Linked DNA regions of Homo sapiens: all the other regions are linked to region 1. The links are contacts of gene promoters, found by promoter capture Hi-C in blood cells and fetal thymus (Javierre and others, 2016). All regions are on one chromosome and are shown on one strand. Each heading gives the region's core, a stretch centred on a gene start or on the middle of the fragment in contact. The rest is flanking DNA. Distances are from core to core; before and after follow the strand shown.

Evidence for each region. The method cuts DNA at HindIII sites, captures the fragments that hold promoters and counts their contacts. A CHiCAGO score of 5 or more calls a contact.
Region 2: a contact is called between a fragment that was not itself captured here and the fragment with the promoter of KIAA0319 in region 1, in 7 of 17 cell types (neutrophils, naive B cells, non-activated CD4 T cells and 4 more). The highest score is 10.0, in neutrophils.
Region 3: a fragment that was not itself captured here is called in contact with the fragment with the promoter of KIAA0319 in region 1 in 5 of 17 cell types (neutrophils, non-activated CD4 T cells, naive B cells and 2 more); the score reaches 9.8 in neutrophils.
Region 4: a contact is called between a fragment that was not itself captured here and the fragment with the promoter of KIAA0319 in region 1, in 9 of 17 cell types (neutrophils, total B cells, naive B cells and 6 more). The highest score is 17.3, in neutrophils.
Region 5: a contact is called between a fragment that was not itself captured here and the fragment with the promoter of KIAA0319 in region 1, in 1 of 17 cell types (neutrophils). The highest score is 7.5, in neutrophils.
Region 6: a fragment that was not itself captured here is called in contact with the fragment with the promoter of KIAA0319 in region 1 in 2 of 17 cell types (neutrophils and total B cells); the score reaches 7.2 in neutrophils.
Region 7: a contact is called between a fragment that was not itself captured here and the fragment with the promoter of KIAA0319 in region 1, in 1 of 17 cell types (neutrophils). The highest score is 5.1, in neutrophils.

Annotation. Positions count from the first base shown.
Region 1 is chr6:24,644,429-24,648,761 of GRCh38, reverse strand. It overlaps KIAA0319, which reads left to right and starts at 2,571. Exons shown (of 21, transcript NM_014809.4): 1 at 2,571-3,026. RefSeq lists a silencer at 2,517-2,726. The HindIII fragment of the contact is 1,579 bases long and covers 1,796-3,374 here.
Region 2 is chr6:25,143,600-25,147,932 of GRCh38, reverse strand. No RefSeq gene overlaps it. Among named protein-coding and RNA genes, the nearest start is that of CARMIL1, 130 kb to the left of the region's middle. The HindIII fragment of the contact is 1,781 bases long and covers 992-2,772 here.
Region 3 is chr6:25,092,350-25,096,682 of GRCh38, reverse strand. It overlaps the pseudogene CMAHP. Among named protein-coding and RNA genes, the nearest start is that of RIPOR2, 160 kb to the right of the region's middle. The HindIII fragment of the contact is 608 bases long and covers 1,542-2,149 here.
Region 4 is chr6:25,074,624-25,078,956 of GRCh38, reverse strand. No RefSeq gene overlaps it. Among named protein-coding and RNA genes, the nearest start is that of RIPOR2, 140 kb to the right of the region's middle. The HindIII fragment of the contact is 1,647 bases long and covers 1,185-2,831 here.
Region 5 is chr6:25,053,432-25,057,764 of GRCh38, reverse strand. No RefSeq gene overlaps it. Among named protein-coding and RNA genes, the nearest start is that of RIPOR2, 120 kb to the right of the region's middle. RefSeq lists enhancers at 1,180-1,239, 1,380-1,509, 3,490-3,659. The HindIII fragment of the contact is 4,254 bases long and covers 333-4,333 here.
Region 6 is chr6:25,035,130-25,039,462 of GRCh38, reverse strand. LOC102724765 (a long non-coding RNA gene) reads left to right here and starts at 3,322. Exons shown (of 2, transcript NR_187803.1): 1 at 3,322-3,481. It also overlaps a transcript of RIPOR2 not described here. The HindIII fragment of the contact is 927 bases long and covers 1,268-2,194 here.
Region 7 is chr6:24,939,593-24,943,925 of GRCh38, reverse strand. All of the region lies in intron 2 of LOC105374981 (a long non-coding RNA gene), which reads right to left. It also overlaps a transcript of RIPOR2 not described here. Among named protein-coding and RNA genes, the nearest start is that of RIPOR2, 5.8 kb to the right of the region's middle. The HindIII fragment of the contact is 3,876 bases long and covers 143-4,018 here.

The DNA of each region.
Region 1 (4,333 bases), core at 1,322-3,821:
AATTTTTCAAAGTTTTTCCAGTGTAGTAGCTTTGCTTGCCTTACCTTCCTGCTTAGTGAAATTCCAACATAGAATCTTCTGGGTTTTTTTTTTTTTTTTTTTCAGTCTCAACCTCCTGGGCACAAGTGATCCTCTAGCCTCAGACTCTTGGGTAGCTGGGATTACAGGTGTGCACCACACACCCAGCTACTTTTTATTTGTTTTTGTTTTTTGTACAGAGAGGATCTTGCTATGTTGCCCAGGCTGGCCTCGAACTCCGGGGCTCACTCAATCCTCCTGCCTCGCCCACAAAGTGCTGGGATTATAGGCATGAGCCACTGTACGTGGCCTAAAGTCTTGTATTTCAATGAGGCAGCACTGTCATTACGCTAAGCACCATTTTTACCACTGATGTGGAATGTACTTTAACCTTCCTAAACCTCAGTTTTACCCACCCTCAAAATAAGTTATCTTTTATTGTACAAATGTCCCAACCAAAAGCATAAGCAAGAGCAGACAAAGTTAATTATACTAAGGATACATCATTTTATCCTTACTACCTCTTGCAGTGTCTGGCATATAGTAGGAGCTCAATGGATGTCCACTGAATGCTGAAAAGAAGTGAAAGGTAGTAGCCTCACATCTGTGTCCTAAAGAAGGAGACTAACATTTTCATACAATACCAAAATAGATATATTCATTAAAAATGAAAATAGATATTCATTACAGTGTCTCTGAGTTAAAAAGATGGTATAGTTAAACATTCTGGGCTAAGCCTGTGTGTGTGTGTATGTGCTAAAAATATGTTTCTTTAAAGGCTAATCAGCCAAGGATCGTTGGGGACAAAATCAGATTCATTGGCTTGATGCATTGAAAGAGTACCTGTGGAATGCCATGTGAGCACAGAAAGGAGGAAGTGTCTTTTGTAAAGATTTGGCTTCCTATTAAAGGATTCCAGGGAGAGTCTTGGAATCAGAGCTGGGATCCAGTTGGTTGCTGTTTCTGAGGCAGATTGAGAGAAAGGGGGATTAATGAGGGATTGGGTGCTGTCAGGAGGTGAAGGGAGTTTAGCAATTGGGTATCCCCAGTTATGGATGGGAATAGTAAAGCAAAGGTAGAAAGTAGTAGTCATTCAAAAATGGAACACAAGGAGTTGTGTTGTTTTGTACCTGCTGCGTGACTTCAGAGGAAACAACATTGCCTGTTAATTTTGCTTCTGACTTTGTCCTCTCAGCCTGATCATTGATCATTGGCAGTACTAACTTTTCCAAGTCCAAGCTGATTTTCACTCTTTGAGTCCTGGACAGGTTTTTACTCTTTAGTTTTTATTTATTTATTTATTTATTTATTTATTTATTTATTTATTTATTTATTTATTTTGAGACGGAGTCTTGCTCTGTCGCCCAGGCTGGAGTGCAGTGGCACGATCTCGGCTCACTGCAACCTCCGCCTCCTGGATTCAAGCGATTCTCCTGCCTCAGCCTCTCAAGTAGCTGGAACTACAGGCGCGGGCCACCACTCCCGGTTAATTTTTTGTATTTTTAGTAGAGACGGGGGTTTCACCGTGTTAGCCAGAATGGTCTCGATCTCCTGACCTCGTGATCCGCCCGCCTCGGCCTGCCAAAGTGCTAGGATTACAGGCGTGAGCCACCGCACCCAGCTGGTTTTTACTCTTTAAATGTGCATTATCTTATTTGATTCCCAGAATCATCCTATATGAATGCTATTATCTTCATTTTATAATTGAGGAAACAGGTTTATCTAGATTAGGTAACTTGTCTGAGGCTCTTCGGTAAATACGAGTAGCCAAGAAGCTTATTCATCAACAGTGTGTGACTCAGCCCTAAGCACTGCACTTATACCTCCTAGTAATGAGATGTGCGAGGAATGCCCTGGCTACCTTTTCTGCTCATGATATTATCCCTAGATGCTTTCGCATCTTTATTAAAACAGTAAAAATGCAAGAGTCTTCCACCCAAGTTTTCTGTGGTTTAGATTATCACGTTCCTCAAGATGCAAATGTCAAACTATACTGGGCATCCAGTTAACCTGCAAGGCCTGGAGGTGATGGGAGCCCCTCCTAGCACAGGTTCCCAGTCTCAGTCAGAAAGCACCTGCTCAAAATAGAAAGATAATTACAGAGTAGGGGCCAAAGAGACTCCCACTGGAAGAATGGAACTTGTGTAGCTGGGGTGACACAAGCTGGGGACAAGCTGGGGGACACATTCGCGAAGGGTGTTTGACCCAGGCAGTGCACCCACGGCTCCCTTGAGCCACCCTGGCCCGGGTGTTTATTTGGAAGGAGTGTTCATCCCCCAGACTGTTTAGGGCCACGGTGACAGGGAAGGGCTTGGTGAAGGAAAGCAGGTAGGGTATGAAGGCCGCTCAGGTTCACGAAAGACTTTTGCTTGGTCCCCTGCGGGGTGGGAGTGTGTCGCCCCGGTGCGGGTACTTAGAGCGCAACCGGGGAGCTGAGCAGGGGAGCTGAGCAGGGGAGCTGGGCAGGGGCGGCTGCCGCGCCCCACATCCCTGAGGGCGTGTGTGCGCGTGCGCGCGCGTCGCCGTGGTAACCGCGGCGGCGGAAAGGCGCTGAATCACTGGCGCGCGCTTTCCCCGAGCCTGCAGAAGCTGCCGCGGGCGGTGGGCGGGGATCCCCCGGGGGTGCAACCTTGCTCCACCTGTGCTGCCCTCGGCGGGCCTGGCTGGCCCCGCGCAGAGCGGCGGCGGCGCTCGCTGTCACTGCCGGAGGTGAGAGCGCAGCAGTAGCTTCAGCCTGTCTTGGGCTTGGTCCAGATTCGCTCCTCTGGGGCTACGTCCCGGGGAAGAGGAAGCGAGGATTTTGCTGGGGTGGGGCTGTACCTCTTAACAGCAGGTGCGCGCGCGAGGGTGTGAACGTGTGTGTGTGTGTGTGTGTGTGTGTGTGTGTGTGTGTGTGTGTGTGTAAGACCTGCGATGACGACGAGGAGGAACAAGTGGGACGGCGAGTGATGCTCAGGGCCAGCAGCAACGCATGGGGCGAGCTTCAGTGTCGCCAGCAGTGACCACAGGTACGGTATCTACTTCCCAGAGCGCCTGGCCGAGAAATAGGAAAGAGGGCAGCCAGTAGGCAGGCCAATACCCAACAAAAGTAGAATCGAGACGCCCTGAGTTCAGAAGGTGAGTTTCTTAAGATTCTTCTGGGCATTCAGGAAAGGGCATTTTTTGATTGCTGCACTGATTGTTGACTAGTAGGGTGGAGTCGGGGAAATTTGAGTGTCTTTTCCCAACCTCACGAATTGCATTTTTTTAGAAGTAAGGAATCGTTTTCTTTAAACTTCATTCAGAACTATTTATGTGATCTTTCCTATTATTTGCTAAATGCATTTTGTCTCTGTTCCTTACCATAACCTGAAGCTTAAAATCTTTCTCTTCTTCCCTTTGAATTCCCTCCAAGGAATGTCACAAATTAATCGGGAGGATAAACCTGAAATTTTGAGAGTTATCATCTTAAGGTCATTTGTTAATTAAATACAAGGAGGAAAAATATGATATACATACTCATGTGCACTTTTATTGCTGGTTTGTTCATCAAAACATTTTTGTTTGTCGGTGAAATGTTAGTATTTTTTCCACTGCTTGAATTGAAAAGTTGAATGATGTTTTTGATAGTAACAGAAAAAATAAATTGTAGACAATGTTCCCCCCCACACACAAGAATTTTGGAAGTAAATGTTGGTATTTATTTCTTTATTCCTGAAATACATGCTCACTTTCCAAATGCTTCAATTTATTATAAGAAGACCACAATTGTAGAGACTACTAAAGTTATGCCAAATCTAAACTTTTATTTTGTGCTTTTTTTAGTATTATTTTTAATTCAGATGAGGAAAACTGGAGGTGTCAGTTCAGTTATAGACGTAGGAGTCACAGAGAAAGGTGAATTCCTCTGTAATTTGAAAAAGGGAAATGTAAACATATTACCTAAGTACTCTGATTTATTTGTATTAACCATTTGTAATGCATTTGCATTTGTAATGCAAAATGCCGAGGCAAGAACTTAATTTTTGTTTCGAAATAATGAAAATAATTCAGCCAAAATCTTTATGAATTAAAAATAGCCAAAAGAGAGCTTTGGTAATGTATGAATGTAAAAGAATAGAGTTGCTGTTAAATTTTCTTGACTTTTTTTTTTTCCCTAGCCAATAGATAGGAAGCATTCTCTTTAAATAAATACAGTAAGTCCTCACTTAACATTCTTGATACGTTCTTGGAAACTGTGAACCTTTAAGCACAACGAGGTATAAGGAAACCAATTTTACCACAGGCTAATTGATATAAACAAGAGTTAAGTTCCTACAGCATATTTCTGGTCATA
Region 2 (4,333 bases), core at 633-3,132, 500 kb before region 1:
TCCTTAAAGATATATAGTACCCTGACTCTTGTAATATTTTTCTCATTTTCTGAAACAATACACTTTAGTTTTCTTGTTAGGGAACTTTATTTAAATGGAGTCACGTTGCCTCTGTGTGTGTGTGTTTTGTTCTTTTTATCCAATATTATTTCTGGGCATTGGTGCACGTTGTTACAAGTAGTCTTAATTGGTTTATTTGTCTTTTTGTGTTCCACAGAATGCTACTTTACTGTTATAGCGTATAATTTACATAACATATAAATACATAATTTATCATTTCATTGTTGATGAACATTTGCATTGTTTCCAATGTAATATACTCAAATGTAATATGAATAATGCTGTGATGTACATTCTTGTACATGTATCTTGAAGAACATATGCACATATTTCTCCAGTGTTGAGACTTAGCTAAGAGTAGGATTGTTAGGTGACAGTATATGTGTATTCTCTGTTTTAGTGTAGAATGCCACACTATTTTTCAATGAGATTGAACCTCACTACATTGTCATTAGTAACATATGAGAGTTTCCATACTCCTATTATCAACATTTAGTACTTGCAGTTGTTTTAATTTTAGTTGTTCTGGTAAGTATAGTGGTACTTCATTGTGGTTTTTATTTTCACTTCCCCATTGCTAGTGAGGCTGAGCTCTGTTTATACAGTTAGTCACAATTTGGATATTCTATTTTATGAAGTACCTATTCAAACCTTTTTGCCCATTTTTCTTATAGATTGTCTTTTTCTTATTGATTTATAGACATTCTTCTATATTCTGCATAGAAATCCTTTGTCATATTTATGTTGCAAATTTTCATTATGTGTCTTACCTTTTTACTCTTTTATTGTGTTTTGGGGTGTATATGTTCTTTTGGTGTAATCTAAAATTGCAATAATTTTCCTTTTGGGTAGAGCTTTTTGTGTTTTGTTGAAAAAAATCCACCGTGTCCCAAGATTATAAAAAATTTCTCCTAAATACCTTCCAAAAGCTTGATTGTTTATCTTTTAAATGTAAGTCTTTTAACTTGTCTGAAATTGATTTTTATCTATGGAATAAGGAAAGAGTCCAATCTATTTTTCCAATATGGGATCCCAGTTACCCCAGCAAGTTTAGTGGAAACATTTATCCTTTCCCTAGTGATCTACAGTGTCACTTATCAAGTGTTGGTGTATATGTGGACTTGTTTCCAGGCCTCTATCCTGTTCCCTTGATTATTTTATCTACCACTGAGCCAACACTATATGATCTTAATTATTATAGCTTACAATAAGTCTTGATATTTGCTAGGACAAATCCTCTCTCATCTCCCACCTTGTTCTTCTTGAAGAATGTTTTTTCTCTTTTTGGCCCTTGGCATATCTTAATAAATTTTAGAGTAAGTTTTTAAGCTGTAAAAAAAAAAAAAAAATTCTGGGGGTTTTATTGAGACTATAGTAAATCTACAGATAAATTTGGAGTAAATTGATTATCTTCATAATATTGAGCTTCCTATCTATGAACATAATATAACTCTTCGTTTATAGATACACTTAATATCTCTCAATAGAGTTTTATAATTTTCTCCAAAGAGATCATCTTTTGTTAAATGTATTTCTTGATATTTCATTTTTTATGCTATCTTTTAATTTTTATTTATTTATTTATTTTTTGAGATGGAGTTTCTCTCTTGTTGCCCAGGCTGGAGTGCAATGGCACGATCTCGGCTCACTGCAATCTCTGCCTCCCGGGTTCAAGCAATTCTCCTGCCTCAGCCTCCTGAGCAGCTGGGATTACAGGCATGTGCCACTACACCCGGCTAATCTTGTATTTTTTGTAGAGACGGGGTTTCACCATGTTGGCCAGGCTGGTCTCGAACTCCTGACCTCAGGTGATCCACCTCAGCCTTTTCTGCTATCTTAAATGATATATTTTTAAATTCAATTTTTGTATTTTTTATTGCTGATGTGAGAATAAATTGATTTCTTAAACTATTGATTATATATCTAACAGCTGTACTAAACTCTCAGAGTCTTATAATTTATATGTGGGTTCTTCTGAATGTTTATGTATACAGTCAGTTCTAAGTATCTTCAAAAATGATTTTTTTTCTTTCCACTCCTTATGTGTTTGACTTTTTTTTTTCTTGCCTTAATGTGCTGAGTAGCTTATTCAGGTCTCTTTACTTTTACCTAATGTCTTTTTCTGTTTCAGGGTTACATCTAAGATACCACATCACATTAGCTAAGGAGCTATCATGTCTCCTTAGGCTTCTCTTGGCTGTAATATTTACTTAGATTTTTCTTGTTTTGGATGACCTTGAGTTTCAAGGAGTACAGACCATGTATTTTATAGGTTACCTCTCTACTGGAATTTATCTGATTTTTTTTCTCATGGTTAGACTGGGATTATGGGTTTGCAGGAGGAAGACCACATCATATTAAAGTTACATTCTAACATAATTTATCACCGTTGATATTGACGGATTGTCACATTTCCTTACTGTTAAAGTTACTCTTTTTTTCATCATTTCCATACTGTACTCTTTGAAAGGAAGTCTCTATGAAAGGAAGTCTCTATGTGCAGCCCACATTTAAGAATTGATTATTTCAGATTTTCTACATAGGCAATCATGTTATCTGTGAACAAAAACAGTTTTACTTCTTTCTTCCCAATTTGTATACCACTTATTTATTTATTTGCCCTATTTTATTGTCTAGAACTTTCAATGCAATGTAGAAAAGCAGTGGTGAGAGACGACATCCTTGCCTTGTCCTTATCTTAGTAAGAAAGCTTCTACTTTCTCATTTTTTGTAGATGTTTTAATTAATTAATTAATTAATTTATTTATTTATTTAAGATACAGGGTCTTGCTCTGTCTCCCAGGCTGGAGTCCAGTGGTGTGATCATAGGTCACCCCAGCTTTGAACTGGGGGCTCAAGTGATACTTACATATTGGCCTACCAAGTAGCTAGGGCTATAGATGCATACTGCCATGCCTGGCTAATTTTTTTTTTTTTTTTTTGAGATGGAGTCTCACTCTGTCACCCAGGCTGAAGTGCAGTGCCATGAGCTCAGCTCACTGCAACCTCCGCCTCCTGGGTTCAAGCAGTTCTCCTATTTCAGCCTCCCAAGTAGCTGGGATTACAGGCGTAGGCCACCATGCCTGGCTAATTGTTGTATTTTAGTAGAGACGGGGTTTCACCATGTTGGCCAGGCTGGTCTTGAACTCCTGACCTCAGGCGATCCACCTGCCTCAGCCTCCCAAAGTGCTGGGATTACAGGCATAAGCCACCGCACCTGGCGCTTTTTTATTTTTATTTTTTAGCAATGGGGTTTTGCTATGTTGACCAGGCTGGTCTTAACCTCCTGGCCTCAAGTAATCCTTCTGTGTTGACCCCCAAAAACACTTAGATTAATGGGTATGGGCTGCTGTGCCCAGCTGTAAATGTTCTCTATCAAGCTGAAGAAGTTTCACTGTATTTCTAGTGTGCTGAGAGTTTTTATCATGAATGAGTGTTGGATTTTATCAAATGCATGTGATCATGTGACTTTTCTTCTTTAGCCTATTGATTTGATACATTATATTAGTGACTTTTGAATGTTGAACCAGCCTTACATGCCTGGAATAAATCCCATTTGGTCATAGCATATAATTCTTTTTATCCATTGCTATATCTGATAATATTTTGTTGAGTATTTTTGCATCTATGTTCATGAAAGAAATTAGCCTGTAGTTTTTTTTTCTTGTTATAACTTTGTCTGATTTTGGTATTAGGGTTATGGGCTCATAGAATGAGTCAGGAAATATTCCCTCTGTTTCTGTCTTCTGGAAGAGACTTTTGAAAATTGGTATAAATTCTTCTTTAAAATTATAGTAGAATTCACCAGTACACCCTTCTGGGCCTGATGCTTTCTGTTTTAGAAGGTTCTTAGTTACCGATTCAATTTATTTAATATATATAGTACTACTCAGATAGTCTATTTCTTTTTGTACAAGTTTTGGCAGATTGTGTCTTTGAATGGATTGGTCTGTTTCACCTAGGTTATCAAATTTGTGAGCGTAGAGTTTTTCATAGCATTCCTTTATTATCTTTTTAATGTCCATAAGTTCCATAGTGTTGTCCCTTCTTTCATTTCTGATATTGTATTTTTTGTTTTTGTAGACACAGGGTCTGTTTTTTTTTTTTCCTTTGAGAGAGGGACTCGCTCTGTCACCCAGGCTAGAGTGCAGTGGCACGATCTCAGCTCACTGCAACCTCTGCTTTCTGGGCTCAAGTGATTCTCCAGTCTCAGCCTCCCAAGCAGCTGGGACTACAAGTACAAGCCACCAATGCCTGGCTAATTGTTTTGCAT
Region 3 (4,333 bases), core at 596-3,095, 450 kb before region 1:
CCACCTCCACCTCCCAAAGGACTGAGATTACAGGCGTGAGCCACTGCGCCTGGCCTACCTCACTTTTTAAAAATGGAAGTCTTCCCATTTAAATAAAATGAACTATCCAATAAGTATGTCACAAATCTAGGGGAAAAAAAGACTGAATTTTTTCCTAATCTTTTCATCCTATATAACAGTGACTCAAATGTTTTCATCATCTCAGAACCTTACTAGCGAGTAAACAGTGAAGAATCTTTTATTAAGGTCCATTGATACAGCTCAAAAATAAATTATTTTATGAAAGTAAAAAGCAATAAGAAAATTAGTTTTCATATCAGTGCAAATATTACCCAATTTCCCATTCCACAGATAGTACATTTGAACAAGTAACAATAACACACTGGAAATGCAATCCAAGAAAAGTTAACATGATGCCACAAAGCTATATTTTTGAATACTACTCTAAGCCAAATGAAACCATCATGGGCTATTTGGAAATGGACTAACATTTTGGAGAGTGGTACATGCAATTACCAAAAGCTCACCCTCTCCCAGCCTTACCTCTGCAAAGTCAGTATGAATGATAAATCAGCTCATTCTGTCTTTTGCTAACTTCCCATATTAAACGAGTTATCAAATCTGGTCAATTCTCCTTCATAAAGCACTCACAAATCCATCACTCGTCTCCAGCCTCTTCTGCCCTGGCCTTAATTCTGCCTCTCAAAATTTCTCACTTAGACTCCTGCAGTGCCCCCCAACTTGTATCTGTGCCTCCCCCACAACTTCCCTTGATCCATCTTTCATGCCAGTGTCTTCAATCTGCTGGTCACAATCCATTGGCAAGTCACAAAATTAATGCCATTGCTCACAGCCAATGTTTTAAACATGAAATAGAATAGAATAAAATGGAATAGGATAGAAAATACCTGAGTACATTGCATGTAACAAGGGTATTATTTCATGAAACTTCCGTTTCATAGGTACCCTTGGTAGGGGGACTCCAGGGTCCTAATGTAAAATGTAGTCTTTACTGGGATGATAGGCAAAATGTTTGAAAGCCCCTGCTCTTCATTGCTGACAAAGTAACCTTTCTAAAATGCAAACATTCTTGTTTAAAATTCTGTAGGATATCCTTAGTGCCTCCAGGATAAAAGTGTTTTTAATTTTATTTTCCAGGTCTAAAGGTTTTTAATTATTCCAGTTCTTAGCAAGGTATTCAAGAGCCTTCGTCATTTTACATTTGCCTAACTCTCCAAAAATCTTCTCTTTCGATTGCCCCAGCAGTTTTCAAGCTTTAATGAACATAGGAATAATTGAAGAGACTCACATAAATCCAGATCCCTGGACTCCCTTCCCCCACAGATCCTGATTCAGTAGATCTGAGGTAGAGCCCAGGAATCTGCATTTGTATTCTTGTGCCTCACCAAAGCATTCTGGGTGACTAGAAAGTCAACACCGTTGGGTCTTAGAGCTAAGACGAAGTATAGAGGACACACAGAGACCAAGTGCTCTAACTGCCTTGCAAGGGGAAGAGGAAAAAATTGTGACCAAGGAAAGCTTAATCTGGATCTTTGGCATTTAGAGATGAGGAGGATGTCACGAGTAAGTAGAGAGGAGAAAGAGATTCTAGTCAGAAACAATGGCATGTGCTGGAGAAGGCAAGTGTATAATGGGTTTGGTGAATGCGGATACTTTGAATGAGGGCATAAATATATGTGATTCATTCAGAAATGATTTATTGAACTCCTTCTGTGTGCAAGTCATCATCCCAGATACAGAGGATACAGCTGTGAAGAGGCTTTTGCCCTCATGAAGCCATCTGTCTTCCTAAGTAGAGGGCTTGTGAGTGAAAGCAGAGGAAAAGGGTGAGATAGGCGGCAGCCAGGCTCGGAGAAAGGCCCCAGAAGCCAGTGCAGGGAATTTGTCCTGTGAGTGAGGGGAGCTGCAGAAAGTTATAAAGCAAAGAAGGGACATTGCTGAGTTTTTATTTAGAAAAACCATTTCAGCTTTGCAGAGAATGGACTGGGGAACAGGTAGAACCACTGGAGTAAGGGAGAGTGGTTGGGAGGGTGTGGCTTTCTATAGAAAGAGATTAGTGAAGCTCTACACTGAGGCAAGGCAAGGAGTTGCAGAAGAAGATTTGAGATACATTTAGAAGGAAGAAGCTTTAGGATTTGGTAAATTTTTTTTTTTTTTTTTTTTTTTTTTTTTTACAGAAACCAGTACATCTGTAGCTTTGGGCATATAAAAGTATAGTTTTGAGAAGAAGGTCAGCTACTGCCACGTCTTTATGAGATGGGCACCTATTTCCCTCCTTATATTTTCTTTATCCAGATCACATCCTATTCCATTCTTGGGATTTAAAATTCCATGTTTTATGCAAGGATACATCTTCACATGGGATGGACAGAATTCTAGGATTGTCAGAGAACTCTACCACATTACTGGCTGGGTTTAAGGATAAAAACTGGCATCTGTCTATTGGCTGTGCTTTGATTAGGACAGCAAGAGCACCATATATTAGAGACACAAAGTTCTGGGAATTTCTTAAAGATAGGCTAAAGTCATCCATATATCCAACAAATATTTATTGAGCACCTCCTATGGGTTCAGTCATGGTTGCTACTTTCACCAAACTTATATTCTAATTGGGGTGGGGAGGCACGAATGTGCAGGCATCCACAAAATCATGGCCAGATTATAAGCAACATTTCTGTAATTTACTTGTTTGAACAAAGAGGCCCAAATTAGTGGTTTTCACACGTTTTTTTCTAGACATAGACTTCTTTCTTTGAATGAAATCTGACTTAGAAACCTATCACACTAGACAATAGGAGCTGCTCTGATTTAGGCAATGGTGGGACCACTGAGGCACTTTTGTGGGACGCCTTGTGAATTATCTGAGGGGTCTCAAAGCTGCTAGTCTGGTTGACTTTTGCTACTTAAGTACTAACTTTTGCCTTCATTACTTGTTACTTTCTTTCACTGTTCTCACACCTTTGTGTCTTTAAGCAAGGGCATCATAGAGCCTCCAGAGGGGACAAAAATTTACAAGGATTCCTGGGATTTTGAACCTTATTTGGAAATCTTGAATGCTGCTCTAGGAGATGAAATATTTCTTCACTCATCCTGGATAAAAGAATACTTCACTTGGGCTGGATTTAAAGATTACAACCTTGTGGTCAGGGTATGCTATTGTTTGTCTTTGCTTTCTTGTATAATGGAAATACATGAACACCCCTTTGTTTTCCAATAAGCATTTATTAAGTCCTATCAACTGCCTAACAGAGAACAGATTTCACAATTGATCAGCAATCTCTTGTTGAATATTTAGAGAATGTACTGAAGTCCCTAAGTTTTTCTTTTGGAACATCTTTTATCTGCTATCACCACGTGTTTTTTGTTGTTTGTGTTTGTGAGTGTTTTTGGCATGGCAGGAACAGCTATTTAAACTGTGGGGCTAGAAGGTAGGATCCACCCAAAGAGGTAATCGCCCGGAGCAAGGTGAGGTAGAAGCAGGTAACCCTTGTCTGCAGCTATGCTGAGGCTGAATTGCACAAATTAAGAATTAGGCCTAGGTCTGCAGCTTAATCTAGCCCTGACACATACATACAGAGCCACAAGCTAAGAAAGAGTTCATGTTGTAACCTAGTCACCAAAACTGGACAGATCTCCAAAAGCAAACTAAATACTAGCAGACAGAGGGTGCAAGACAAAGAGGAGGTCTGAAATGGGACAGGAGTAACTGCAAAGTCAGTGAGTAACCAGCTACCTGTGGCTTATATGAGATGCCTGAAGTTGTACAGGGGAGCAAAGTTTAGGGATGTCATCAGGAAATGGACAACACTCACACTCTTAAGACACAAGTATTCATTACCCTCAGGGTAAGAAGTACTCCCAAGTTTATCTTTCAATTCCTGAACATTAATGCCAGATAATACTTGCTATTCTCAAAAGCAATGATCCCCAGAAACCTAGCTGGGGCCCATGGCCAGTCTGTGACAAAGTTTTTGCTGGCAAATAGTGAAATAAGTAAGAGAGCAGGTATGTATATCAACTCTCTTTTCTTGGGATGAATTGTTATTATTCCATGACTAAGTCCTTTCTATTTGGGGGTATTAAAACATTATTTCTTCAATGAAATAAAAGGGTAGCAGAGGCAAGGTTTTTTTCAGTCCTCACTTAGCCAAATAAATGGTTGATATCTATATTAGTTCCCAGATAATTTCTAGAAAATTGTCTTTGAAATCTAATGACCTAGGAAGCATTGGTAAATGGTATTTTCATTAGGACAATTGGTATGAAAAAGAGAAAAACTTTTGACAGTTTTTTATAAAACATTTTCAGTGAA
Region 4 (4,333 bases), core at 759-3,258, 430 kb before region 1:
AAAATTTACATAGCAATAGAAAATTTCAGGAGTAACCAAGGCACTCTTTAAAGAAGATGAGGAATAAGGAGGATAGGAAGAACGAGAGAAGGAGGTGGAGAGGGAGGAGTAGAAGAAGATGGTATGTGTTCTACAGGATAACAAACTTATAGTAATTTGACAGTAGGGTAGTGGCTCAAGGGAGACAAATAGATCAATATAACATAATGGAAAGCACAAAAACTCAGGCAAACATGGAGACTTACTTTCAGACGAAGATGGTACTGCAGATCAGTGGAGAAGGTGCAGTCTTTTAAATAAATATGCTAGTTGAATTGGATATCATATGCTGGGAGCCTTGACCCCTATGTTATAACAGAAACAAGGAATCAGTGTGAGGTGAATTATAGATCTAAATGTGAAAAGCAAAACAATAAAACTTCTACATGATGATATATGGAAATATCTTTGTGACCTTGCTGACAAGATTTCTTAAACAGAACACAAACAAGCACTAACCATCAAGAGAAAAAAAATGAACAATTAGACTACAGTAAATATAAACTCTATTCATGGCTCACAGCTGTTTACCCAAGAGAAATGGAAATATGTTCACAAAAAACTTAATGTTTGCAGCAGCTTGATTCAGAATTACTCCTAAACTGGAAACAATTCAAATACCTGTCAACTGGCACATGGCTAAACAAAAGGTAGTGCATCTATACAATGACATACTATTTCATAATTAAAAGGAATAAACTGTTGACACATGCAACATGAATGAATCTTGAATGCGTTACAGCACATGAAAGAAGCCAGACTCAAAATACAAATATATAGATGGAGAACAAATCAATGGTTGCCAGAGTGTAGTGGGAGGGAGAGGCAGTTACTATGAAGGAGCAGCATGAGTAAAATTTTGCAGGGGATGGAACCGTTCTGTATCTTGATGGTGGTGGAGGATACACAACTCTATGCATTTGACAAAACTCATAGCACTGTACATCTAAAAGCGTAAATTTTATGATATGTAAATCTCAAAATAACCTATTAAGCTCTTAATAACCTATTCATAAGCTACTATTAACCTATTCACTAAGAATGATATTAAGGGAATAAAAAGGTAAGCCACAGAGGGGCTCTTACAAATTTAAAAGACCAATAATATAGTAATAGAAAATTTTGAACCACTCACAAAAGAAGCTTTGAAAAGATGCTCAAATTAATTACTCACTGGGGAAAGGCAAATTAAAATTCCGCTGAGACACCACTACCCATCTACCAGAATGGCTAACATGAAAAAGGCAACTTCAAGTGTCACTGAGGATGTGGAGCCATAGGAAGTCTCATACTCTGCTGGTGGGAGTATAAATTAGTACAATCCCTTTGGTTAATCATTAGGCACCCCTAAAGTGAACATACGTGTAATCTATGACTCCATAATCCCCTTCGTCAGTATATACCCAACAAAAATGTACACATGTATTCACAAAAACACATGTTATCTGTAAGAATGTTCATAGCATCCCTTTTTCTAATAGGAACCTGGAAGCACCCCCAAATACCCGTCAGGAGAAGATTAAATTGTGGTATATTCATACCATGGAATTCTCCACTGAAGCAATTCTTTTTTTTTTTTTTTTTTTTGAGATGGAGTCTCACTCTGTTGCCCAGGCTGGAGTGCAGTGGCCTAATCTCGGCTCACTGCAAGCTCCGCCTCCTGGGCTCAAGTGATTCTCCTGCCTCAGCCTCCTGAGTAGCTGGGATTATAAGCACCCGCCACCATGCCCGGCTTTTGTATTTTTAGTAGACACAGGGTTTCACCATGTTGGTCAGGCTGGTCTCAAACTCCTGACCTTGTGATCCACCCACCTTGGCCCCTCAAAGTGCTGGGATTACAGGTGTGAGCCACCGCACCCAGCCTGAAGCAATTCTTTAAAGTGATGATCACAGACCCATGGAGGTCCCAAGACCCTTTTGCAAAGTCCTTGAGGTCAGAACTATTTTCAAAATAATACTAAATTTTTTTGCCATTTCCTCCACTTGTTGACCCTTACATTGTAGTGTGTATAAGTACTGACACCTTATTCTGGACGGAGGTAGAGGCATCAAACCATGCTGTCATTGTATTAGGTGCTTACAGTTAAAAAAAAAAAAAGTTTGTTTTATTTAACATCCATGATGTTGCAAGAAAAAGCACTGATTTTTCCGGGCGTGGTGGCTCACACCTGTAATCCCAGCACTTTGGGAGGCTGAGGCGGGTGGATCAGGAGGTCAGGAGATCGAGGCCATCCTGGCTAACATGGTGAAACCCCGTCTCTACTAAAAATACAAAACATTAGCTGGGCATGGTGGTGGGTGCCTGTAGTCCCAGCTACTCAGGAGGCTGAGGCAGGAGAATGGCCTGAACCCTGGAGGCAGAGCTTGCAGTGAGCCGAGACCGCGCCACTGCACTCCAGCCTGGGGGACAGAGCGAGACTATGTCTAAAAAAAAAAAAAAAAAAAAAAAGAGAAAGCACTGATTTTATTAAGTGTATAAATTTAGTAAGAATCTTGAGTACATGTTTTATAGGAAGAGTGAGCACAGCACTTCTGCTCCATACTCAAGTGTGACGGCTGTCCCGAGGGAAGGAGCCTACGTTATTGAGCCATGAACTACACTGGCCATCTTTTTTCATGGAACACAGTTTTGCTTTGAAAGAAAAACTGACACAAAAAAACTAACGAAGCATGGTGGTGCAGGCCTGTAATCCTAGCTACTCGGGAGGCTGAGATGAGAGGATCACTTGAACCCAGGAGTTAAGAGAAAATTAAGGAAATACAAATGGCCAATGAATAAATGAAAAGAAGCTTAATTTACTAATATGATGCACTGAGATAAATGTACAAGAGAGGGCACTGGCAAAATTATGTATCATTTTAGAGCTTAGAAGAAATAAGCATCTATCAATTAGGAAATAAATATATTACAGTAAATCACATTATATTAATATGTAGTGGTTAAAAACAATGAGGTAGCTCTATGTTTATTGATCCAGAAAGACGTACAATGCACATTTAAAAAGAACTAAGTTATAAAAATATCACTTATGTTTAAATAGCACTTTACAGGCACAACTTGTTTTATTATGCTTTATTGTACTTCACAGATATTACATTTTGTGTGTGTGTGTGAATTGAAGGTTTGTGGCAACTGTGCACTGAACAAGTTTATCAAGCCATTTTCCCAGCACCAGGGGCTCACTTCATGTCTCTGTGTTACATTTTGATAATTCTCATATTTCAAATGTTTTCATTATTATTATATCTGCTATTGTGATCTGTGATCAGTGATCTTTCATGTTACTATTCTAATTGTTTTGGGGCACCACAAACCCATATAAGACAGAAAACTTAATAAATATTGTGTGGGTTCTGACTTCTCCACCCACATGCTATTCCTCCATCTTCCTCTCTTCCCTCTGGCCTCTTTATTCCCTTAGATGTGACACTACTGAAATTAGGCCAATTAAGATCCCTACAATGGCCTGTAAGTATTGAAGTGAAAGGAAGAGAAGGTCACATGTCTCTCACTTTAAATCCACAGCTAGAAATGATTAAGTTTAGTGAGAGAGGCATGTTGAAAGCCAAGATAGGCCAAAAGTTAGGCCTCTTGCACCAAAGAGTTAGGCAAGTTATGAATGCAAAAGAAAAGTTCTTTAAGGAAATTAAAAGTGCTACTCCAGTGAACACACAAATAAGAAAACAGCCTTACTGATGATACGGAGAAAGTTTTAGTGGTCTGGATAGAAGATCAACCCAGCCACAACATTCCCTTAAGCCAAAGCCTAATCCAGAGCAAAGTCCTAACTTTATTAAATCTATGAAGTTTGAGAGAGGTGAGAAAGTTGTAGAAGACAAGTTTGAAGCTAGCAGAAGTTGGTTCACGAGGTTTAAGGAAAGAAGCAGTCTTCATAACACAAAAGTGCAAGGTGGACCCTTCCTTACACCTTATATAAAAATTAACTCAAGATGGATTAAAGACTTAAAACGTAGGACCTAAAACCATAAAAACCCTAGAAGAAAACCTAGGCAATACCATTCAGGACATAGGAATGGGCAAAGACTTCATGACTAAAACACCAAAAGCAATGGCAACAAAAGCCAAATTTGACAAATGGGATCTAATTAAACTAAAGAGCATCTGCACAGCAAAAGAAACTACCATCAGAGTGAACAGGCAACCTACAGAATGGGAGAAAATTTTTGCAATCTACCTATCTGACAAAGGGCTAATATCCAGAATCTACAAAGAACTTAAACAAATTTACAAGAAAAAAACAACCCCATCAAAAAGTGGATAAAGGATATGAAC
Region 5 (4,333 bases), core at 1,210-3,709, 410 kb before region 1:
CATCAGAGCAGTCTTTCTCACTAAGCCTGGATGAGGTCTCAGAATTCCTTTCAAGGCAGCATTCCAGGAAGCCATTATTAGGCTGTTGATGATGGCATCCTATGTATAGGATCCATCTGTGTGAGGCTGTGATTTTTGTTGTAAATTACAGAATCCTCTGGCTAGTGTATGCAAAAGGAGAGGTATAAAGGGCTACTAATAGCTCCAAAAAATCATTGGGAGGGTTGAAGGTACACAATCTAGACTGAACCTCTCAAAAGAACCGGTCTACTAAGGGAGCTGTTGCCAGCAGGGCCCCGGAAGCACCAGGCCTCTGCCATGATCAGGAAGCTTCTGGGTCCGTAGCTGCCCTGCCCCTGCTGGCTATTGCCACTATGCTTGTCAGAAGGTCCCCTCTCCCTGCACAAGGCCAACAGCTGACTTTTCTCACTCGCTCCTTCCAAGACTCACATCACTGCATCTGCTTAGCAGTGCCTAAGTCACATGAGGAGCTTGAGCTGCAAGTGAGTGTGGAGAATGAGTTTCCCCTACTACAGGGCAGGAAGACGCACGAGAAGAGGGAATGGAATTGGGCAAGCCAGTCTGTAGTTCTGCTTCACCATCTTGAGATGAATCTATGGCATTAGATATAGAAAAGAAGCATGGGAAAATTGGAAAGCACTGTAAGATATAAACATGGGAATTTGGCAATGTTCATCCAATGCTATCCAGGAGAGATGTCCCAGTGAGACAAATGTGCAGTCCTCTCCACAAGTAAGCCCTAAAAAGAGGAGAAGGAAACTTTGGGCCATTATAACTTGATGTAGAGTGATCAATTGTCCCAGTTTGCCTAGGACTGAGGGGTTTCCTGGAATGACTAGGAAAGTCTTGGGCAGACCAGGACAAACTGGTTACCCTAAGTCAATGACAAGAACCATCAGCATCCAACAACTAGACTTGGTTCAGATTCCACTCTCACTAAGCACATTTTGGATTGTGATTTGGACTTCCAGGTGTGTGGGAGATAATGCCTCAAAAACCTTTAGCACAAAGTCTGGTGTATAGTAAGCACTCAATAAATGCTTATATTTTTGTATTTTTAAAAGTTTGTTTCATTTTAAAATACGTTGGCCAGTTAACTGAAATGTTTAATTTTTCTTGGTAGTTTTTCTTCCTTTTTTACACGCCAGCATATTTTCTTTCGGATGTGGGTGTACATTGTTCTGTTGAGATTTTGCTTAGTTCGCGAGGTAGTTCCTGGTGATAGGTCTTGTCTTGGTGCCTTGGGTCGTAGGCACACTCTGGACCACACCTTAGAGTGTGAAGTCTCCATTAAGGCTTTCTCCCCTCTCTGAGGCTCTAAGTGGCAGCTACTGTTCTCTTCGGATATCACCTTACTTTGATCCATTTCCATGGCAACACCCTGTGGTATGAATGAGTATCTACCATACTTCCTGCTCAAGCCAGCTGTGGTGAAGGGAGGAAGCCTGAGAACTGTGGTCTCCTGAAGAGGAAGGGCACCCAAGTGGTGAAGGAGGCCCACGATGCCAAGGCTAGCTTCTCTTTCTTTACTGCAACTAGAAAGGCTGTGCTTCCTCCAGCAGTGGCCTCCCCTCAGGCCTGCCTTTGGGAACAGGCTGCACCCTCTGTTCCCAACCTTCCCTCCTTCTTTCATCCCATTCATAACGGTATGTCGTCTTCCCTCACAGCCTTTGCTCTTGTGTGTCTTTGGCCAAGAATGCCCTTCTCTTCACTCCTCTCCACTCCTGGATTCATTCCCCATCTTTCAAAGTATCGCTCAAACGCCACCTCCTCCCCAAACCTGCCTTGAGTTTCCTCCTCCTGTCAGAATTGGTTCTCCATCTTCTGGGTGCCTAAATGACTTACTGCTGCTGCTCTGACACCAATCACATTGTATCTGGTAGTATAGTGACAAGTTGTCTCTCCGTATCTGTGGGGAATCAGTTCTAGACCCCTGAGGACACCAAAATCCTCAGATGCTCAATCCCTGATATAAACTAGTGTAGTATTTGCATGTAACCTGCGCACAACCTACCATATACTTTAAATATCTCTTGATTGCTAATAATACCTAATACATATAAATGCTGTGTCCTTATACTGTATTGCTTTTCAATTTGTATTATTTTTATTGTGGTTTTATTATTTTTTATTTTTTCAAACCTTTTTTTTTTTTTTTTTTTTTGAGACGGAGTCTCACTCTTCCGCCCAGCCGGACTGCAGTGGTGCGATCTCGGCTCACTGCAAGCTCCGCCTCCCGGGTTCATGCCTTTCTCCTGCCTCAGCCTCCCGAGTAGCTGGGACTACAGGCGCCCGCCACCGCGCTCAGCTAATTTTTTGTATTTTTAGTAGAGATGGGGTTTCACCGTATTAGCCAGGATGGTCTCGATTTCCTGACCTCATTATCCGCCCACCTCGGCCTCCCAAAGTGCTGGGATTACAGGCGTGAGCCACCACGCCCAGCCTTTTCAAATATTTTTAACTGAGGTTGGTTGAATCCTAGTATGCAGAAGTCACAGATATGGAGGGCCACCTGTATTGTGTATCTTCTACATTCTCCATTGGATTTTAAGCTCCCAGGATAAAGGGTATCATTCATCTTTGTATGCCCAGTGCCTACTACATTTTTAAAAAGTGAATTGAATTAACCTCATAAGGAAGAAACCTTTAGACTTCTTGGACAATTTTCCTCAAGTAGGCTGGACACTCTCATGAGTCAAGGTGCCTTGGCAGAGATGTCAAGGAGAAAAGACCCCTTATTGTTCCTTTCTTTATCTCCCTTCAATTGCTTCCTCCTCCATCCTAAAAATGTATAAGAATAGATGTTACTCTAATCAGATGTCCCTTTGGGAACAAGCTGCATGAAACTTTTGAGAATCTCTGGTTTCATAGCACAAGTTTTAAAAGATGGTCTTTGTTATGCTGGTTGCTCACACATAAAATACAATGTTTAAAACATTGGTGAAAAACACATATATTTTATAACTGGGAAGTCTGGTTTGCAATGGTTTGTGAATATGGAAAGAGCCCTGAGCTATGAGTCAGAACTATTAATAATGCCTTAGGAACTAACTAGCTTTGTGGCTGTTGACAAGACATTTCTCCTCCTGAGGCTCTGTTCCCTCTACCATGAAACGAAGGTATGGGGCAGTGATGTCTGAGGTCTCATTGGCTCTGAAGTTCTGGGAGATTCTGATTTCATGGTTTACTTATAGGTAAAAAGAAGAGAAGCTGCCTTCGGGTGGTGGAGTCTTTAACCCACTTCTCTTCTGCCGAGACTGAAAAGGATCCAAATCTCATGGCATTAAGGTCAAAGAAAAAGTGACTTTTTAAAACTAAGTATAATAAGGAAATATTTCTCCTCTACATCTAGATATTTCTCCAGAGGGAGCTCACCACAAAAGTTAAACAGATCACTACTTTAAAAATGTTTTTCTGTTTAAATCAGGGCTGTTCCGTTGGGGCTGATTTAATCAAGAGAGAAAACAGACCTCTCTCTTGTCTCTACTCTGACTCATAAAGGCAACTCTGCTCCACTGATGTCAATTGGTCACTATTTGCATAATAAGTTATTCTAAAAGTTAAAATATCAGGCCCTTAATCACAGAAGAAAGGAAGACTTTTCAGTGAGGCCTTCCAGTGATTGCAGATTTAGAGGGCTCTTGGGACAGCCACTGGGTGGCTAAATTAGTAAGTTGACACCTAGTTACTGTTGATAGGAACAGGAAGCAGGGAAATTCTGCGCAGAAGAGGGCAGTTCCCTGGGTAGGTCCCCACTCTCAAGCTGAAACTCTTGATACTGCAGCCCAAAGTGAGAACTTACATCCCTGCTTTCCTGCTCAAATGTTGCCCTTTCCAAAACCACCCATAACCCACCCTGCCCCTCATTCTGTGCCCATAAAAACCCCAGGCTTGGCCAGCAGAGAAAGGAGAAGCAGCTGGACAACGAGGACTATGGTTGGAAGTTGGAGAGAAGCAGCTTGACTTCAGAGGGACAGCTTGATGGCATAGCTTCAGAGAGGAGTCTGACTGGGGATAGCCAGACTTCAGGGGAAGATTACCTTCCTGCTCCATCCCCTCTTTGGCTCCCCTTCCTGCTGAGAGCCACGTTCATTGGCAATAAAGTCCCCTGCATTTACCATCTTCAACTTGTTTGTGCAACCTCGTTCCTCCTGGATGCCGGACAAGAACTTGGGTGCCATGAGTGTGGTTGCAAAAGGCTATCGTGCTGATGCTCCACTGAGCTATTAACACTTAAGCTGTCTGCAGATGGCAAAGCTAAAAGGGCACTGTAACACTCCTTCTGGGCCTTCAGAGGTCGCAGGCGCCAGAT
Region 6 (4,333 bases), core at 482-2,981, 390 kb before region 1:
CATAATGCCTAAGGAGGGAATTCTGATATTCTTCCAGGATGGTCAAGAGCCCTGCTGCATGAGAGTCAGTGTGAGTTAGAAACAGGAACAGGATCAAGTGACATTTTTGGAGGGTTGCATTTTCCAACTCACAAAAGACCTGTGCATGTTTGCAGGCAGCGAATCAGAGAAAGTGGAAAGGGAGAAAGAGTGAAGACACCTGCGAGGGAAGGACGCTTATCACTGCAAATGTCAGCCTGCAAGGGTGGCCCTCAACAATATTTTGCAGCTGCTAAAATCTGCTTTGATAACGTTTCCTGTCTTCTTTCTCTGAAGCTTTTCTCATAGGTCAGCGTTTCCTCCAACTTGGGGACTCAAGTTATATAATCCTTTGGGGTTATTTTGTCATTAAGAAAAATAAATTAGTAAACCCCTTTTCTTTAAATACACAGAGGGACCTTGAATGGCGATAGGAGGGACATGTGCCACCACTGTCCATTTCCATGCCCATGCAGACATTGGTAATCAACCACAGCTCTCTCCTTTTTCCCCACGGGGGCCAGGCCCTGGCTTGGAATCCTTTCTAATATAGTGCCTTAAGCTGCCATGTCTAATCAATTAGAATTGCCTCACTGGTTGAAATTTATGTTTGTTTTCTAGTGCTTTGTAACAAATTACCACAAGTTTATTGCCTTAAAACAACATACATTTTTTATCTCACAGCTTCCATGGGCATGAATTAGCTGGATTCTCTGCTCAGGGTCTCCCAAGGCTGCAATGAAGGTGTTCTCTGGGGCTGCAATCTCATCTAAGGCTCAGGGTCTCCTTCCAAGCTCAATGGTTGTGGGCAGAATTTAGTTCCTTGCAGTTGTAGGCCTGAGGCCTTCAGCAACTAAAGGCCACCCATTGTTCTCTGCCACATGACCCTCTCCATAACATGGTAGTTTGCTTCCTCAAGGCCAACAAGGGTCTTTTGCTGCTTATAGACTCTTCTTTAAAGGGCTCACCTGATTAGGTCAGGCCCACCCAGGATAATCTCTCTTTTGATTAGTTAAAAATTGACTGATCAAGGACTTTAATTACATTTGAAAAATCCCTCATTTTTGCCATATAACATAATCTAATCACAGAAGTAAAATCTCATCATATTTATACCCAAGGTTCAAGAACTATACAGAACCTGTATGCCAAGGGGCAAGAATCGTGGGGCCATCTTCAAATTCTGCTTACTACAAAACCTAATTGTCATCTTTGCAATAGAACTTCGATTTTGAGCTACTGGAAAGCTTTAGGTTTTTTGTTTGCTCATTTGTTTGTTTTTGTTTTACTTTTTATTATGAGAATTTTCAAACATTCAGTAAAGTTGAGAAAATAGTATAATGAATCTTATATATCTATCACCTAAATTTAACAATTATTAACATTTTGCCATATTTGCTTCATCTAATTTCCTGTTGAAACATTTAAAAATAAATCAGACATTATGACATTTTAGTAAGAGCGTCTCTAAAAAATAAGTACATTTTTCTACATAACTGCGTAATAAAATTAACAATGATCCCCACATATTATTTAATACCCGGACCATATTCAAATCTCCCCAGGTGAGAACAAATCCTTAATAAGCTCTGCATGCCTGTAACCCTTAGTAAAATACCTGGTACCTCATCTACTCAATAACCGTTTGGGTTCCATCAAAATTAAACTCATAGTAAAGCAATGGATCCCAAAGTTCATCTTCCCTAAGCCTTCCTCACTTCTTCCTTTCACCCCCAGAATCTGTAATGAAATATTTATTTTCTTTTCTAGTCCATAGCAGTGTAGTAAAAAAATAATAATAATAATCAAACCAAGGTATGAGAACGGTAATATGTTACCCTTCTTAGGGATATTTGAATTTTAAAAGAGGCCAAAGGTCACTACAAAGACACACATGTGTGATACTGAGCAGACATTCGGGAGAAGGACCTATCTGGTGTCCTGTAAACCCTGTCAAGCTGCTTACCTGTGACCTGCCCAGGTAAAGAGGAGTATAGACACAGCAACAGCCCGTGGGTGCCTGGGCCTTCTACATGATGACAGCAGGGTCAGGGCAGGGCACGGGAATGAGGGGTGGGCACAGATAACTGAATGCCCCGAGAGCCTTTCTTTCCTTTAGTCTGCCACAGTTGGGGTGGGCGATTAAAGGAAAGAAACCCTGAAAAGTATATAAGCTTTGACAACCAGGAGATTTGGCTTCAAATCCTGCTTCTACAACTTCTTAGCTGTTGGCCTGTGGGCAATTTATTCCACCTCCCTGAATGCCCACTTCCTCAACCTTAAAATGCTTATTACAGTAACACCCACCTCCCATTGTTATTGGAGGGGATTAAAAGACATAAAATATGTCAAGTGCCTAGCACAGTTCCTGGCAATGTAGCTATTGGGAGCTGAGGGCCTAAAAATGGTAATAGTGGCATTTGAGGCAGTATGAAGGGCTTACCATTGCCACCTCCACATTTTTTCCCAAAATAATGGGAGACATGTCATACTGGAGAAGGCATCCCCATCTTCCTCAGCCAGGCACCCTACCCTCACATTCAGCTGGCTTACACCACACCACACAGGAGGCAACACAGATACACTAGGGAAAAACTGATCTTGGCCCCTAGGGGTGTGACTCCTGTTCTTCTGGGAAAATGGAGTGTTTGCCCCCACAGAGGATCTCCAGGCTATTTTCAGTACAAGTAAATGCAACCAGATGACAGAGCCCACTTGGAACTTGTTTCGCCTCTTTAAAAAGTTGAACTCTAGCCTAGCGTGGTGGCTTACACCTGTAATTCCAATGCTTTGGGAGGCTGAGGTGGGAGGATCACTCGAGGCCAGGAATTAGAGACCAGCCTGGCAACATAGCAAGATCCTGTCTCTATAAACATTTTTTTTTAAGTTAGTGGGCATGGTGGTGTGTGCCTGTAAACCCAGCTACTCAGGAGGCTGAGGCAGGAGGATTGATTGAACTTAGGAACTGGAGGTTACACTGAGCTATGATCATGCCACTGCACTCCAGCCTAGGTGACAGCGCAAATGCTGTCTCAAAAAACAAAACAAAACAAAACAAAAACCCGTTGAACTCTGTTAGGTAGAGCTTTGATGGAGGCAGCCACTGGTTAGCACTTTTTGTGGACTCCAATCAGAGGAATGGAAATGAGTTTTCTCTGTCCCACTGAAAAGACAACAGTGACAAAGCTGATATGCACTTGAGATTAGGGAATCTGCTGTCTCAGAGATACCACTGGCGACTTCCTCCCAGTGTCAATGTGACTTAATTGTCTTGTTCTGCTTCGCCGGCCATTCTCCTGACTCAGTGTGATGGCATTCTTAATTGTGACTGGGCAAGGGGACCTGGTCAAGCAGCAGTCTGAATCCCACAGACGATGCCCTGGACTGTGGTTGGGGCTGTGGGACTTCGAAGGAGGGCTCTCCTGTCTGCCACCATCCTGGGTTGACAATTCTACACAAGGAGGTAAGAACCCAGCTGGCTATTCCTCACTGCACGTGCAGCTCTGGAAGGCACTCTGATTCATAGAAACAGTCTTAGATTTTCTTCTAAATACCACTGTCTTCAGATGAGAACCTGAAGGCAAGATCTCAGGGAGACAGAGGGGCCCGGGATAGGAAGAATATGTGGGCACCTCTCCCACAGTCCTCCATCTGCACAAGGCTACCCACTCTGCAGATGGCCCCTGCTTGCAGAGAGATCCAGCGTCAATTTACAGAGCAGCCCAGCTTCCTATCAGCTTTCTGTCCTGGCTCACCTGTTATCTGGCAAGGGTCAGGCCTTGACCACACTCATGTTTCTCCCCCGGCCTCCTCCACTCTGGGATTTTGTACCGGTATGGGGAGGCACTACGGTTGCAGATTTAGCTTTTCAGCGTGGATACAAGCACCCAAGTGTCCCAGACCACAGCAGAAACCGTGTTGCTGCCGTTTCCAACCTGCTGATTTGGTCTCTTGCTGCCGTTCTGACCAACAGAATTGCTACTGACTGACAAATCCCTTGTGCTGCGATTTTAGGCTTCAGGCTGGGCTTCTCTGCTCTGAAGTGGAGAAGGATATACCAGGAAAATTCCTCTCTTGGTTTCTGTTTCTTTTAAGCTACAAGCTTAAAGATTTGAGAGGAGGTCAGTGAGGAGTTTACCCCAAGTATAAAAAAGAAAGAAACCTTTTAGAACATTCTGTATAATTCATAGGTCACATATTTTCCTGGGTTTCAGTCTAGACACCTGCTAAGTTTATCCATTAACAGCCTCATCCCAGACAACAGGCGGCTGGGCCCCACAAAGCCTGGGTTTCTCCCCAGTTCTGAATCTTGTTT
Region 7 (4,333 bases), core at 831-3,330, 300 kb before region 1:
AGACTGTTCACACTTGGCAACTCTAAATCAGATTAAATAAAAAGGCTTGTGAGTGAAGTCTTCCAGAGAACCACCAGACAGGTCAAATAGTGACAGTTTTGGGGGAATGGGACTTTGGGGGGAATGGGACTTTGAAGAAGCTTTATCTCCATTCTGCAACCATTCCAATAGCTGCCAGGCTGTTGATTTTCACTGTGATTGCAGGCTGCTGATTTTCAAGGCTACCACAGAGATAAGGTGAAGTGTGTGGAAGCTGGTAAATTAAAATGCCATAAAACTCATTGTTCTATTGAAATTCAGCCATTTTTCTTGAATAAATGCTCCTGGATTGCTGTAAGCCTTTGGTTAATTTCCAGCCTTCTGCAAAAGTCGATACTGGCCATTTTCCCAGTTTCTTATTGCTTTTATGGAAGAAAGGCTTTATTATTATTATTATTATACTTTAAGTTTTAGGGTACATGTGCACAACATGCAGGTTAGTCACATACGTATGCATGTGCCATGTTGGTGTGCTGCACCCAATAACTCGTCATTTAACATTAGGTGTATCTCCTAATGCTATCCCTCCCTGCTCCCCCTACCCCACAACAGGCCCCAGTGTGTGATGTTCCCCTTCCTGTGTCCAAGTGTTCTCATTGTTCAGTTCCCACCTATGAGTGAGAACATGCAGTATTTGATTTTTTGTCCTTGCGATAATTTACTGAGAATGATGGTTTCCAGCTTCATCCATGTCCCTACAAAGGACATGAACTCATCATTTTCTATGGCTGCATAGTATTCTATGGTGTATATGTGCCACATTTTCTTAATCCAATCTATCATTGTGGGACATTTGGCTTGGTTCCAGGTCTTTGGTACTGTGAATAGTGCTGCAGTAAACATATGTGTGCATGTGTCTTTATAGCAGCATGATTTATATCATTCAGGACATAGGCATGGGCAAGGACTTCATGTCTAAAACACCAAAAGCAATGGCAACAAAAGCCAAATTTGACAAATGGGATCTAATTAAACTAAAGAGCTTCTGCACAGCAAAAGAAACTACCATCAGAGTGAACAGGCAACCTACAGAATGGGAGAAAATGTTTGCAACCTACTCATCTGACAGAAGGCTAATATCCAGAATCTACAATGAACTCAAACAAATTTACAAGAAAAAAACAAACAACCCCATCAAAAAGTGGGCAAAGGATATGAACAGACACTTCTCAAAAGAAGACATTTATATAGCCAAAAGACATATGAAAAAATGCTCATCATCACTGGCCATCAGAGAAATGCAAATCAAAACCACAATGAGATACCATCTCACACCAGTCAGAATGGCAATCATTAAAAAGTCAGGAAACAACAGGTGCTGGAGAGGATGTGGAGAAATAGGAGCACTTTTACACTGTTGGTGGGACTATAAACTAGTTCAACCATTGTGGAAGTCAGTGTGGCGATTCCTCAGGGATCTAGAACTAGAAATACAATTTGACCCAGCAATTGCATTACTGGGTATATACCCAAAGAAAGGCTTTTTAAAGGTCTTTATGTCAGCGTTTTCTCTAATATCCAATCTCTTTTAATTTTTTGTCAATCGTATGTCAAATATCATGTAATAAATTATTATTTAAAAATACATTTCTTGATCCCATAGTATCAACTCGGTAAGATCTTCCTTCAGTTCCTTGAAAACAAATAATTAGAAAGTTTGTGATTTACCAAAGGATCAAGTACTAGTCATTAAATAAAATTCATTTTTTCAATAACAATATTTTATATTGTCTCTTATTTTGCCACCCAGTGACTTATGTGCTATCAAGCAATCTTTCATTATAAGATTTAGGGTGCACAAAATGCATGCCTTTCTTTAAAAGTTGAGAAAGTTATATCTTCTCATCTTGCCTTCTTTGGCTGTCTTGGGTCTGGGGTCACATTCTGGGAGGAAGGATTGTAATTCTCCTTAAACTTTCCCCACATCTCTCACAGACATGGAAGACTGTTCCTTTCTGTCTTCTTAAAGTTTATTTTCCTGTGTATCTTTTCTCCACCCCTTCTGTCACTTTCTGTAGCTCCCACACCAAGAAATTTGTCTTGAGGTTAAAAAAAGGGGAGGAGGGGCAGACTGTACAGTGATCCCTGAAAATGCTTTTAAAGTCAATGGTAGGGCCACAGGAAAGGATTCCCATCTCAGTTAATGTTGCCAAACCCTGAGAGGTAAATTTTATTATCAGTAGCAGCTACAGGATTTCTTTATTGGAGAGGCTTTGTGATTACATTCTGGTTGAGACAGAGGGTAAGGCCAGGGACTAGGGACTGGGTCTTGAAGTTGTGTTTGCATTGATAGCACAATGTATTAATATAGATTGTATTTTAATTTGGGACAATTAGTGGGAAAGGGCTGAACTGTCCCTTAACTCAGTAATTGATTATTATTATTCCATTTTACTGATTCAAAGTGAAATTATTAACTCTAGTCAAAGAGCTAGATAGTAACGAAGCCAAGATTGTAACTCAGCCCTGTCAAATCCCAGAACCAGTGCCTTTATATGCTTTTTTTTTTTTCTGTTTCTAGTTGCAAGCTAACCACTCCCAGCAGTCATACCTTTAACCCATAGTTATGACCTTGCCAACCATACCCAATGTGAGTCTTGCCATAGAACTCTCGTTTGCTGGGTTCTTCTCCTTCTTTCGTAAGTGGAAGGAATGGATTCCCTCAGCGGGCAATTACCGTCATTGTCTTTAGTCCCATTGAAGGAAACAGTCCTGGACTTTGGTCAGGCTTCCCCAGCACCTTCAGTAAGTGACTCTAAGTGTGGCTCCTGCAGCCTAATGATGCGCCTGAAACTGGGGGAGGCAGGCAGGAAGACTTCTAAAGGCTCTGGGAGGGTTTTCCTCATGAGACAACCCTCATGAGATTGTACCCATGAGATTGGTACCTCCTCTTTGCAACATGAAAACAAGAATACTATTAAAAATCATGTTCCAGCCAGGCGCAGTGGCTCACGCCTGTAATCCCAGCCCTTTGGGAGGCCAAGGCGGGCAGATCACTTTAGGTCAGGAGTTCAAAATCAGCCTGACCAACATGGTGAAACCTCGTCTCTACTAAAAATACACAAACAATTAGCTGGGCATGGTGGCGCACACCTGTAGTCCCAGCTAGTCTACTGGGGAAGCTGAGGCAGGAGAATCACTTGAACCCGGGAGGTGGAGGTTGCAGTGAGCCAAGGTCGAGCCACTGCACGCCAGCCTGAGCGACAGAGACAGACTCTGTTTCAAAAAAAAAAAATCGTATTCCTTTTGTCCCAGCTCTTTAGACATGGCATTTTACAGTTAGACAAATTAGACAAATTTTTAGGTGCATCTTTACTGGCAAAGTTACCCAAAGATAAGATTATTTCTGACTCTGTGGTTTTTTTCACCTTTTTCTTTTCTGATTCCTACCACTCCTCACAGTTTCAATTCCTCTCTCCTACTTTGTTCTCCTTTCTGTTTCGAACATTTTGCTCCTAATTAGTTCAGGTTTTTCTCCCTGTTCAGAAGTTTGTATATCTGAAAATTAAGTATTTTAAAACACTTTCTGAAAGGAGTGGGAAATTCTCCAGAAGCACAGAGAGAAGATTGTGAGGCTCTTCTGTTGGAATAAAAGCCCACGTTGGATGTTGAAATTTTTCCACTAGTATGGTTTCCTCCTGTACACGCTTCACAGGTGGTATTTTTTTTCAAAACAGCAAACTATGCAGAAATATTTTAAATTAATAAATTATTAATTATTATAGCCTCAATTCTCATAACTCAAAATAATAATACTGTGTTGATATTCATATGTTCAACACAACACATGCCTTCTCACTTATATATTTACTTAAATATTTCACACCATACCTGAAATATAGTAGGTATTCATTACTATTCTCCAAATGAATGAAGTGAGTAAAGTTCCACAAAGCAAGGACCAGACCTTTCATATCATTGTAATTCACAGACCTAGTATGGCATAAAGTGGGCACCAACTCTTTGGAGTATAAAAGCTTTGCTATGTTCCTGTGCTTATGACCTTGATGAAATTCTGCTGTTAAATTTAGTACAGGTTGTCACAAATCACCATTTGATCAAAGTAGTTGCCTTATACTGGTTCATCTATACTTTTGTTCTCTTCCCCAAATCCAATTATTGGAGCTGTTTGCCTCAATCACTGAAAAGCAAGATTCTTTCATTGTTGTTTCAGACTTACTCCTCATTTCTTAGTGAAAACTACTCTCTGTGACCTACATCTCCCTTAACTAAGCACTGAATTTCCCTATCTTTAGTCTTTCTTTTCTAATATGGATTCGAAGGGGATCAGAAT